2 separate regions of the Homo sapiens genome follow, and region 2 is linked to region 1. Evidence: promoter capture Hi-C in 16 types of primary human blood cells and fetal thymus (Javierre and others, 2016). All regions are on one chromosome and are shown on one strand. Each heading gives the region's core, a stretch centred on a gene start or on the middle of the fragment in contact. The rest is flanking DNA. Distances are from core to core; before and after follow the strand shown.

Evidence for each region. Contacts are between HindIII fragments. The CHiCAGO score rates a contact against its expected background, and 5 or more counts as called.
Region 2: a contact is called between the fragment with the promoter of ACTR10 here and the fragment with the promoter of L3HYPDH in region 1, in 5 of 17 cell types (naive CD4 T cells, total CD4 T cells, non-activated CD4 T cells and 2 more). The highest score is 7.5, in naive CD4 T cells.

What each region holds. Positions count from the first base shown.
Region 1 is chr14:59,481,244-59,487,394 of GRCh38, reverse strand. It overlaps L3HYPDH (trans-L-3-hydroxyproline dehydratase), which reads left to right and starts at 2,987. Exons shown (of 5, transcript NM_144581.2): 1 at 2,987-3,586. The coding sequence starts at 3,079. It overlaps JKAMP (JNK1/MAPK8 associated membrane protein), which reads right to left and starts at 2,878. Exons shown (of 7, transcript NM_016475.5): 1 at 2,802-2,878; 2 at 591-682. The coding sequence starts at 2,805. RefSeq lists an enhancer at 2,633-2,912. The HindIII fragment of the contact is 9,651 bases long and covers 1-6,151 here.
Region 2 is chr14:58,198,611-58,204,388 of GRCh38, reverse strand. ACTR10 (actin related protein 10) reads right to left here and starts at 4,240. Exons shown (of 13, transcript NM_018477.3): 1 at 4,095-4,240; 2 at 1,462-1,534. The coding sequence starts at 4,171. RefSeq lists enhancers at 3,858-4,047, 4,668-4,797 and a silencer at 4,208-4,597. The HindIII fragment of the contact is 4,366 bases long and covers 3,882-5,778 here.

The sequences.
Region 1 (6,151 bases), core at 1,738-4,237:
CTGCAGATAAATGTTCTGGATTCATGATGTTCAACTTACTGTACAAGACACGGTACCAAATCATAAATTAGAAATTATTATAAAATTATTAAATGTTTTAAAAAATAATATAGACATCAAAATGCCAACATGAACAATGACTATATTAATGCCTCCATATTCTTTTATATTTCCTTATTTTATTTTTTTTTTGAGACAGAGTCTCCCTCTGTTGCCCACGCTGGAATGCAGTGGTGCAATCTTGGCTCACTGCAACCTCCACCTCCTAGGTTCAAGCAATTCTCCTGTCTCAGCCTCCCGAGTAGCTGGGACTACAGGCGCACACAACTATGCCCAGCTAATTTTTTTCTATTTTTAGCAGAGATGGGGTTTCACCATATTGGTCAGGCTGGTCTCGAACTCCTGACCTCAAGTGATCTACCCACCTAGGCTTCCCAAAGTGCTGGGATTACAGGCATGAGCCACTGCGCCTGGTCCTCCATATTCTTTTATAAATTAATGAGTATAATAACAAAAAATGTTGTATGTGAAAATATTTCAAAAGCAAATAGATTTTACAAAATGAAATAAGATACAAACATAAGACTTACCCCACATTCTCCATATATTTCAGTTGAGCCATTTTTAAATAATAGGGTCTTCCCACAATAAAGTCCAAGGCATGCTGGTTGAATATCGACAGCTTTTTAAAAACAAATGCCAGTATAGTAACATCTTTTGTGATTATAAAAAATAATTGCAATAATAGCTGAAGCATTTGGCAAAAATAACAGTTTCAAATTTTTGAATAATATGTATTAGACAAAAGTCTTGAAGCATTTTTAAATTTACATTTCTCCTTTTACACTGTGACACTGCAGACAGTTATCCTGGAACCTTGCTGTTAATACCGTGCCTTATGATTAAGGTCCTCAACCAGCAGAGCAGGATCTATCTCCAGGACTCAAAGCCTAACCCGGTATGATTAGAGGATACTTCTGAGTTTAACTGATTATAAAGTTCAAATATACATATATTTTTAAATTAGAGCACCAGTAGAGGGTCACCACCTTGTATTTTGCCCAGTCAGGACATTAAGCACCCACATGTAGACACACAATTATCATTATCACCTATGTTCATAACAGAACACATTTTCACATGGGAAAAGCAGAGAGAACATAATTTCATAACAGAGGTATGCAAATTACCTTTATAAAAAGTTTCCTACATTGTCCTAGCTTTTATCATTTTTGTGGAGGATAAGTGAAAATTTCATCAAGGCTGTCACTGGGCCAATATTTTAGAAACCACTGCATTAAAATTAAGCCCCTGATCTAAAGGCTTAGGGGAAAAGCAGCTATTCCTTACTTAAAAAAACCCCAACAACTAAGAACCTAATACGTTGTCTTTGACCTTATTCACAAGAAATTATGGAAGTTTTCTTCATCAGTGACATCTGATTCCCTTCATTCATTCATTGATTAAAACAAACAAACAGGCTCGGTGAGGTGGCTCACGCCTGTAATCCCAGCACTTTGGGAGGTCGAGGTGGGCAGATCATGAGGTCAGGAGTTCCAGACCAGCCTGGCCAAAATGGTGAAACCCCGTCTCTACTAAAAATACAAAAATTAGCCTGACGTGGTGGCGCGCGCCTGTAGTCCCAGCTACTGGGGAGGCTGAGGCAGGAGAATCGCTTGAACCCAGGAGGCAGAGGTTGCAGTGAGCCGAGATCGCGCCACTGCACTCCAGCCTGGGCTACAGAAGGAGACTCCGTCTCAAAACAAACTGCGGTCTACATGTGAATTAATTTGAAAAATTATGCATCTTTTGACTATTCTTGAACAATCATTTCCCAAATTATTCACGAATTCACAATCTAGACTGCCTGGTCTACAGTGCCTTCTCTCCTTTCACATTCAAGCAGACTTTTTACTTCCTTCTCCTTATGCTGCTGAGAGAAAAAGAGAAACAGCATTGAATAATATTCCTCCAGTTTAATATTTTCGCTTTTAACAAATTTCGGACTTAGCTTTTTAAACCCACTGGCCTCTTTAATGGGCGCTTATTTTTTTTGTAACCAATTGTAATCACAATGTTCTAAATTAATACATGAAAATGAATATTTCAGGTTTTTCAAGAATGCAGAAGGTAAGGAATTGGAAACTTCTGTATGGGCTTTACATCTAGTAGATGCTTAATAAATACACGTGAATATCAATAATCTAAAGTTTCTCAAAATCCAAGGCCTGAAAACCAGTATGATAAACTGAACTGAAATAAACAGCCTATCACTTACTAAGCAAAACCCAGGCTCCAAGCGACTGTTGAATTTCTCCTTTCATTTCCTTTAGCGAACGATGGCTAAAGTTTTAAGATTCCATTTTTTTGCAGCGGTCCTGCCCTTTGTGACGGGCGCTATAAATCTACGTTTGAGGTTGAAGCAGTAGACAAATTATGCAGCAACTTGCTTCTGCTTTACTGTTTTTTCTGCACTATCACCCGCGTTTTCAATTCCGAAGTCAACCCTCAAGCAAGTGTTCCCTCGACATTAAACTAAGGGACTGAAGAGACATTTCGGACCAAACAACAAAGACCTGGCATTTCGCCGCAGACAGCGCGCCTCCCCTAGTAGCCCGTTGCGGACAGACCACCCCAACCCCGCAGGAGTGCGGAGCCCGGCCCGAGGGCGGGCGGGGTCAAGGGGCGAGCCTGCGCCGCCAACCGAAGGCCGCCTACAAAGAGCCGAGCCCGAGGCCAGCCGTGTAGGAAAGTAGTCGGGACTACCAGAAACGCTTCCCGGGATCTTGGCGACCACTCACCCATGGGCCGCCTGAAGGTTTTTTTCGAGAAGCACTAGATCAGCGGATCTGGCAGCTGCACCGAACATCCGGGCCACAGCGAGCTCGGCGGCTCCGCCTCCCGGTAACCCGGGCGACAGCTCCGAAGTTCCTCCCTCGCTTCCGGGTTTAGGCTCCGAGACCCCGCCCCCCGGACGTGGCTGGTTAGCGTCCCGCCCTCCTCCCGCGGAGTCAGTGGGTGAGGGTCGGGCTTGAAGCCATAGCTGCGGGACCGTACTCGTCTCCCCCGACGCAGACCATGGAGAGCGCGCTGGCGGTGCCCCGGCTGCCCCCGCATGATCCAGGGACGCCGGTGCTGTCGGTGGTGGACATGCACACGGGCGGCGAGCCCTTGCGTATCGTGCTGGCGGGGTGTCCGGAGGTGTCTGGGCCCACCCTGCTGGCCAAGCGGCGCTACATGCGCCAGCACCTTGACCACGTGCGGCGACGGCTCATGTTCGAGCCCCGAGGGCACCGGGACATGTACGGGGCGGTCCTAGTCCCGAGCGAGCTGCCGGACGCGCATCTGGGCGTCCTGTTCCTGCACAACGAGGGCTACAGCTCCATGTGCGGCCACGCAGTGCTGGCGCTGGGCCGCTTCGCTTTGGACTTCGGGCTTGTGCCGGCGCCCCCTGCGGGCACCCGCGAGGCCCGCGTCAATATCCACTGCCCCTGCGGGCTGGTGACCGCCTTCGTGGCATGCGAGGACGGCCGCAGCCACGGACCGGTGCGCTTCCACAGCGTCCCGGCCTTCGTGCTGGCCACAGGTAATGGGCGGGACCTTTCCAGCCCAGGGCAGAGCTGCAACCGGGACGCGACTAACTACATTAACGGTTTTTCTGGGCTGGAACTCTGGCAACTAACCTACTCCGCGAAACCTTGCAATTAATAGAAAGGTAAATCACTGCCAACGTGTGTCAGCAGCCTTGCGTATTTGGTGCGTGTAATTTCGATTTTCCCTGACTCCCATCCGCCTGTGGTTTTGGGAGACCCTTGAGGAGCGAGGAATTGCGTGTTACCCTGACTCAGCGCCTCCCTCTGCACTGGTGAGGCATTCCTAGAGATTTCACCGGTGGATAAAGCAAGGTACGGTGGGGTCAAGGAAAGAGCGAAGAACAGCCAATGTACCAGGGTTCCAGGCTGGCTGAGAATATGCTTGGTAGACACAGAATCACACTTAATAAGTTACTAAACCTGGTCTCCTTTCCTCACCTCCCCCACTTCTTTGAAGAATTAAATGAGAATGAATGAACAAAGCAGTTTATAAATCATTAAGATACGAATGTTGCTTTTCTTTAAGAACAGGAACACACATTGCCTGGTTTCAAATCCTGATAACCCCCTAAAGCTGTGCAACCTTAGGCAAATTACTTAATCTCTCTGTGCCTGTGTTTCTTCTTTTCCCTCATAGAGTTTTTTTGTTAGGATTAAATGAGAGTATGCAAGATACTGTATTCCTGGAGATAGATTGCAAGGTTTATATGATCGCTAAAGTTCCCTAGGCCTATTGAGCCATTAAAAGGTTTTGCTGGATTCTCTAGTACAGATCCTTGTACAGCTTATCATGTAAAGCAGGGCATCTCTATAACCATAACCCTTACAGGAGGGATGACCTGGCAAGCTGGCATCTGGTTTCTCATCAGACTACTACCTCCCAGGAGCTGAATTCTATCAGTAAGAATGCTTTAGTCATTGTGACTGGAAGTGAGCCAGGAGCCAGTTTACCAGGAATAGAGTTATCCTTTTCTTAAAAATCTTCAAGCCATGCAAATCATCTGTTAGAAAGTTGGACCTTGATTCCCCCTGAAGAACTAGGTTTCAGATTAGCCTGATTATGAATGATAACTGATAGAACAGGCACTTTTAGAGCAACCTTAGGCAGCTGAAATCCACGAGTTAACGAAGAATGCCTCTGGAGAAATTGATGCCATTTTCCCAGAGAATGGTGTCACTTCCAGACTGGGAGGCCACTTGAGGGAGACAGAATTTATGTTTACGATTCCATTTTTAAAACCTCAACAGTTTAACTAGCGTGGCTACCAGAATTCCCCCTAGGCAACTCCAGCAGCAGAGTAGAAACACTCTAGACTTCTGTAGGAAATGGCAGCTGGCAGCAGGAACACAAACTACATCTCATTTCTGGGTCAGTTAGGGCAGGGTCAGTCAACCACTTGACCTCAGTAGTTCCTCTCAGTAGTTCCTGAGAGCATCACTGTATGACAGTACAATGATTAGTGGGCATTAATGGTCACTGAGTTAAGAAAATGAAATGCTATATTCTCTACTTTGAAAAATGCATACAAGGCAGACATAGTGTTCAAGGTCACTGCCCCACCTCTCCCCATCTCAGTGACCTTGTGCTAGAGAGTCCATGCCTCAGTATCACAGTCTGCAAAATGAGGATGACAACAGTACCCACCTCAGAGGGTTGCTGAGTTCATCTCCACCCCACCAGGCTAAAATGCAAACTCTTTCTTGTTCACAGTATTCTAAGTGCCTAGAAGAGTAGTCAGTCAATGAATGTTTGTTGAATGAGTAACTAAATAAATGAAATTTGGAGAAGAATATGCTGATTGACAAATGTAAACATCTGGTCCTCTTGAGAAACCTATTGCCACTGGAAATTAAAGTTTTGGCTTTCGAGTCCCTAATCTGTGCCAGGAACTCCCCATACGTGGAATTTTCAAAACAACTCTTTTAGGAGAAATAGCAGTTACAGTTTGCACAAGACACCAAAGCCACACTAATGGCAGAACTAGGGTTGGAACCCTGGCCTATCATATTGCTTCCCTCTCATCCTTAAAATTTTTTGTAGTTTAAGGAGATATGTTTCAATTTTCTAGAATAGTGCTTAGTGTATTTTAAAGCATTTTAAAATCTGTCTTGTCCAACTAAACTCCAAGAAGGGGAAAAGCCTATGTTTTATTCCTTGTACTTCTCGTATCTTCTACAGTAATCGGCACATAGTAGGTGCTCACTAAATCTTGAGCAAAGTAAATCAAATTGAAATTTCAGTGATATGCTTGTATAGAAGAAAAGAAAAACCCTTAGATTTTGGATTGTGTTCTGGATAGAGGTTGTATATTTTAGTAGAAAGGGTTTGGGCTTTGGAGTCACCTGGTCCTGGGTTTGACCCCAAGCTCTGCCACTTATTTAGTGGGTAAACCAGGGAATAATGTAAAGATAGTAAGTAAAACAGTACCTACCTCTCAGGGCTGTAGTAATTAAGGCACTAATGTAATGAATTAAGGGGCTAGTGTATGTAAAGACCTGCCACATAGGAAGTACTCATGGGTGAAATAAATATCTTAATTTTTAATGTTAGTAATTTA
Region 2 (5,778 bases), core at 2,991-5,490, 1.3 Mb after region 1:
TTTTTGAGATGGAGTCTCGCTCTGTCGCCCAGGCTGGAGTGCAGTGGCGCAATCTCGGCTCACTGCAAGCTTCGCCTCCCGAGTTCACGCCATTCTCCTGCCTCAGCCTCCCAAGTAGCTGGGAATACCAGTGCCTGCCACCATGCCTGGCTAATTTTTTTTTTTTTTTTTAGTAGAGATGGGTTTTCACTGTGTTAGCCAGGATGGTCTCGATCTCCTGACCTCGTGATCTGCCCGCCTCGGCCTCCCAAAGTGCTGCGATTACAGGCGTGTAATCTGCCCAGCCCACAATTTTATTTTTAATATTCCCTAAGACAGCCTCCAGCCACACTCAGCTGCCTGCCAATCCTATTTAAATTTTGTGGAGGCATCAATTATTGTTTTTGCTAGTCCTCTGATTACAAAGTTACACAGGTTTTATATGGACTACCTCAAGCTTATTTTTCCCATAAGCCTGTTTTGTTTTGTTTTTTAAAAATGTACCATTTTGCAGAACAAAGGTATTTTCTGGAATGCATATATAATGTTACTGTGGTAACAGCTACATCTCATTTTTTAACAAGTGAATTTTATAACATGCAAAATCATTCTTTCTACTGGTTGTAATTTCTAATCTGCCAAATTAGCTGTGGCAAGAAACTTTTTGAAAGTTTGTTTTCAAAATTCTCTGGGTTTTGAAACTGTAAATAAGGGAATAAATATCTGATATATTATAAATAATAAAATAATTCAGTGGTTATAAGACTTATAAAAGTATTTTACTGAAGTTAAAATTTTTCTCTTGATATATGATTCCATTTACATAAAATGTACAGAAAAGACAAATCTATAGAAACAGAAGGTACACCCTAATGGGCTGAGGATAGGAATGAGGATTAATTGTAAACGGGTATTAGGGATTTTACTGGGGTGATGAAAACATTCTAAAACTGGATTGTGGTGGTACTTGTACAACATGATATACTTATGGTGTGCAAAATTAGACCTTGATAAAGTTGATTTAAAAAGAAAAACTTTTCCTTGGAAATATAGCCACAAAGTATATATTTAGTACTGTTTCTTGTTTCTTTTTTTTTTTTTTTTTTTGAGACGAAGTCTTGCTCTTGCCCCCCAGGCTGGAGTGCGATGGCTTGATTTTGGCTCACTGCAACCTCCGCCTCCCGGGTTCAAGCAATTCTCCTGCCTCGGCCCCCTGAGGAGCTGGGATTAGAGGTGCCTGCCACCACTCCCGGCTAATTTTTGTATTTTTAGTTGAGACAGGGTTTCACCATGTTGTCCAGGCTGGTCTCAAACTCCTGATCTCAGGTGATCCACCCGCCTCAGCCACCCAAAGTGTTGGGATTACAGGCGTGAGCCACCACGGCTGGCCTTTAGTACTGTTTTAATCAATCTTACTTGAAGTCATATTTTAAAACATTTTATAGTATGGCATTTATTTTGCTAATATTTTTTTTTAAATACCTTAGGCATCCCAGCTCTTTTTATCACACTAGGAATTATACATCTTGGACCAGTTTCTCCAGCAAATCCACACCTGCAAATAAATGGAAAATTGAAACAACTTATAGTATTCTTTTAAATATTTGTCACAGAAACTAATTTTCTCTGTATTTGTTTCAAAACAATGGCCACAATAACATTTGAAAATACCTGATGTATTTTAAGGGATCAAAAAAAATCACTCCACAAAACTAATAATACTATTTATTAATGCTTGTGTATTAACAGAAAAAAATTCTATGAAATTCGTGATGCTGAAAAAAACAAATGTATTATTTTAGGGCAGCATTTACTTTTTTTTTTTTGAGATGGAGTCTGGCTCTGTCACCCAGGCTGGAGTGCAGTGGCGCGATCTCGGCTCACTGCAAGCTCCGCCTCCCGGGTTCACGCCATTCTCCTGCCTCAGGCTCCTGAGTAGCTGGGACTACAGGTGCCGGCCACCACGCAGGGCTAATTTTTTTTTTTTTTTTTAGTAGAGACGAGGTTTCACCGTGTTAGCCAGGATAGTCTCGATCTCCTGACCTCGTGACCCGCCCGCGTCGGCCTCCCAAAGTGCTGGTATTACAGGCGTGGGCCACCGCGCCTGGCCAACTTTTTTCCTAGTTGTTAATTTTAGCAGAATTTAGGCAAGACATATCTACAACTCTGAATCTGTACTACATTATGTGACTTCATTCATATAATTCATCTGTATCACTCATAATTCCATCATTCTAATATTGTTAGCTTCCATATTGGTGTATTCACTTTCAGTCTACTTCTTATGATTATGCATATATATTTGACATAGTTTTAATCACACTTCATACATAATTAACTCATACAGTAAGCTTCTGCCCATATTAACATAATCTTCATTGCTATCACTTTTTTTTTTTTTTTTTTTGAGGCAGGGTCTCGCTCTGTCGCCCAGGCTGGAGTGCAGTGGCACAAACTCAGATCACTGCAGCCTCCGCTTCCCAGGCTCAAGCGATCCTCCCCCCTTGGCCTCCCAAAGTGCTAGGATTTCGGGCACGACACTACCGCCGGCTAAATTTTGTATTTTGTGTAGAGCTGGGTTTCCCCATGTTGCCCAGGCTGGTCTTGAACTACTGGGCTCAAGTGGTCAGCCCGCCTCAGCTTTCCAAACTGCTGGAATTACAGTATTATTTTTAAAACCACATATTTCATTATTTTAAAAACGATGCTCTTTTCTTGAGTATTTAGGTATTTCCATTTTTGTTTCATGTTAGTAAAACAAAAATTTGCTAAAAACGTTGCTAAAAATGATCATCATACTAGTTTAGTCTTAACATCCTGTCTTCTTGTCCTGTCTAGTTTTTGATACTGCTCTCCTCGTATTCCCAAATAATTCTCTCCATCTCCTCCTATTCCCGTCTCCATGTTTACTTGCATCAGTGCTCCTCAAACATCTCAGAATGCAAGCCATTAGACTTCAATTCCTTTTTTTTACTTCATACATTTATCTTATCATCCTCCTGCTGTCTTTTTCAAATATAGCTTTTTGCTTATTTCTTCCAAGTACAGCCAAAATAATTATCTTTGACTAGAAGCCTCGAACTGTTTATTACGCTTTCAAAATAATTTTAATAAGAAAATATAAATAAGGAAGGGCCTCGCATAGAACAATAAGAGAATGTCATTAACCAAGGACTATGTTTAATCCAATTCTGGAGTTCCTGGGGTCCAATTTTTAAATAGGCTCTTTTAACCACTTAGTCAATAAATAGTTATTAAATACCTACTACACGTCAGGAAGTGCCTAGAGATATAAAAAGATTTTTCAAATGTTTCATTTTCATAAATACATATATGATGTAATTGCCTGTTACTTCCCTCTCTGTTGAGCCCATCACAAGGACTCTTAATCTAGGGTCCCAGGACCACATTGATTGTCTGCCAATTCCCTGAAACTGTGTATAAGTACCTTAAGATTTGTGCATTTGTGGTTTTCATCCAGCCATTAAAGAGATCTATGCCATCCGAAAGGTTGAGAACCTCCTCTCTATTGTTTACAAGTTGGTTTGTTTAAAACATGTCAAATCTAACCTTCGAGTTTAGGGGAGCCAACAAAGGATTTCCAGAATCTTATCTATAGGGTTTCACCTCTTAATGTGCCCAGTCTCCCTAATTCTTGAGCAGCGATAGCCCTGTCTTAAACATCTTTCCATTTTCAGCACCAAAATAAACTCCGTTCAATATTTTATGATGAAATTCGTCATCGAGCATTTACATTCGGTTGGCTGCCTTCCTCAACTGAGGAGCCCAGGGTAAGCGGGGTCTAGGTCACGGTTGTCATCCCCTACACAGATGATCCCAAAGGGTTTGTTGGGTTTGGGGTGATGACAAGGGGCGGCGACGAGGGCAATTCAACAGAAGCTTTCTGGGCCTCTCTGGGAGTCAGACCCCGATCCTCGGATTCGCATCGCCCAGGGAGGAAATAATAAGAGCTGTTATTTGCAAGGGCGCTGGTTGAAGAAAAGGGGAGGCCCGGAGCTGCCCAGCGAGTCGGCGATGAGGACCCAGGCAGTGCCTGGGGCTCTGCCACCCGCCCTCCCCTCGGGTCGAACACAGCTGGCGTCACGGCCACTCACTTGGTAAAGGCCTCTCCCAGGTCGATCACGACCGCCGTCTTCTCCCCGCCGCTCCCCAGGCCCTCGTAGAGCGGCATGGTAGTAAGGCAGACTGAGAGAAGAGGGTCGCAGTCTCCGCGGCCAACAAGTCTCGGCGCTCGCGGGGCGGGGCCGGGGCTCCGGCGCTCGGGCGTCGGCGACGGCGGGGGCCTCGCGCGGCCGCGGCGCGCCGGGCCCGGGCTGTCCCAGGCTGTGCCTCATTCCGCGTTGGACCCACCCTTGCAGGTGCTGCCGTCGCCAGGACTAGGGGAAAAGAGGCGCTGGCGGGCGCGAATCCGAGTGCGGGGGCGCGGAGGCCGCGGCGATCAGGCGCGCCGGTCGCCCTGAGGGGGCGGAGCCGGCCTCCCTATCCTTCCCTCCCACCACGCCCCAAAGCCGCACCCACGCGCGGCTGTGAAGAGGTTCGGTCTCAGCTCACTGTGAAGAGGTCACTGAGGACCTGGCTGCCAAGGGGCAGCCGAGAGACGACGCAATTCCGAACCTTTGATTCATGCTCTTGGGGGGCAGAAGATGCTGAGACCCTATTCTGTGCTAGGCGTTTTGCCTAATATTTAATCTTCTCAAGAAATAACAAGAATATGTGTTTTCTTATCTGTGGGGACCGACGCTCAGAGAGATTAACTTTCCCAATGTCCCACGGCAGAGCCAGGAACAAACCCACAGACTTCCTAATTGCAAAGCCTATGCTAATGATGCTTTAGAGAATAATACGTACAGACAATACTTTAGTTAGTAGTCTTTCTGAAAGTTTTTATTTTACTCCAGAATTAAGCAGCTAGAGTAGCGTCTGTGAATCTTGAATCTGTCCATAGAGGAGCGGTCGGGATGGTTTAATAGAAGAAACATTGAAGCAAAGGCCCCTATTAGGTTGGTGCAAAAGTAATTGCTGTTTTTGCCACTACTTTTAACATTTACATTACTGTTTACATCTTTGTCACTTCACAGCTTTCTGTGAAAATATTTTTTTCCTGCAAATATTAGCTCTAACTGTATCTATGCATAGGAGTGGAAAAGACTGTCAAAGGAGAGGCTGTGCAATAAGAAAAGAGGTTCAAGGGTAAATCGGTGAGGACTAGCAACATTTAGCTGGTGTACTGGGTTGAATGATGCCCCCCCCCCCAAAATTCTTGTCCACTGGGAACCTCAGAATGTGACCCTATTTGGAAATAGAGTCTTGGCAGATGTAATCAAGTTAAGATGAGGTTATACTGTATTAAGATGTCCCAACTGTCCGAGCGCAGGATCACACCTGTAATCCCAGCACTTTGGGAGGCCGAAGCGGGAGGATCCCTTGAGCCCAAGAAGTCTAAAGCGGCAGTGAGTCGGGATTGTGCCGCTGCACTCCAGCCTGGGCAACAACAAGAGTGAGAGCCTGTCTCTCAAAAAAAAAAAAAAAAAAAAAAAAGGCCCTACTCTAATGGTTGGTAACTAGAGTTAGCGGGGTAGTTGGGGATAAGCTATTTCCATAACAAAAACTAAGGCTGTAACAATGCAGAAATTTGGAATGTGATATTAGTAAAATTCATGTTTAAGTCCAAATTACTGATCAATGATCCTCCTTGAAAGCAAATTCCTGGAGACAGGAGAATGAAGTTGGAGTTGTGACGGGGAAGAAAACTTTAAGAAACGTGGGAAGAGATTAAAT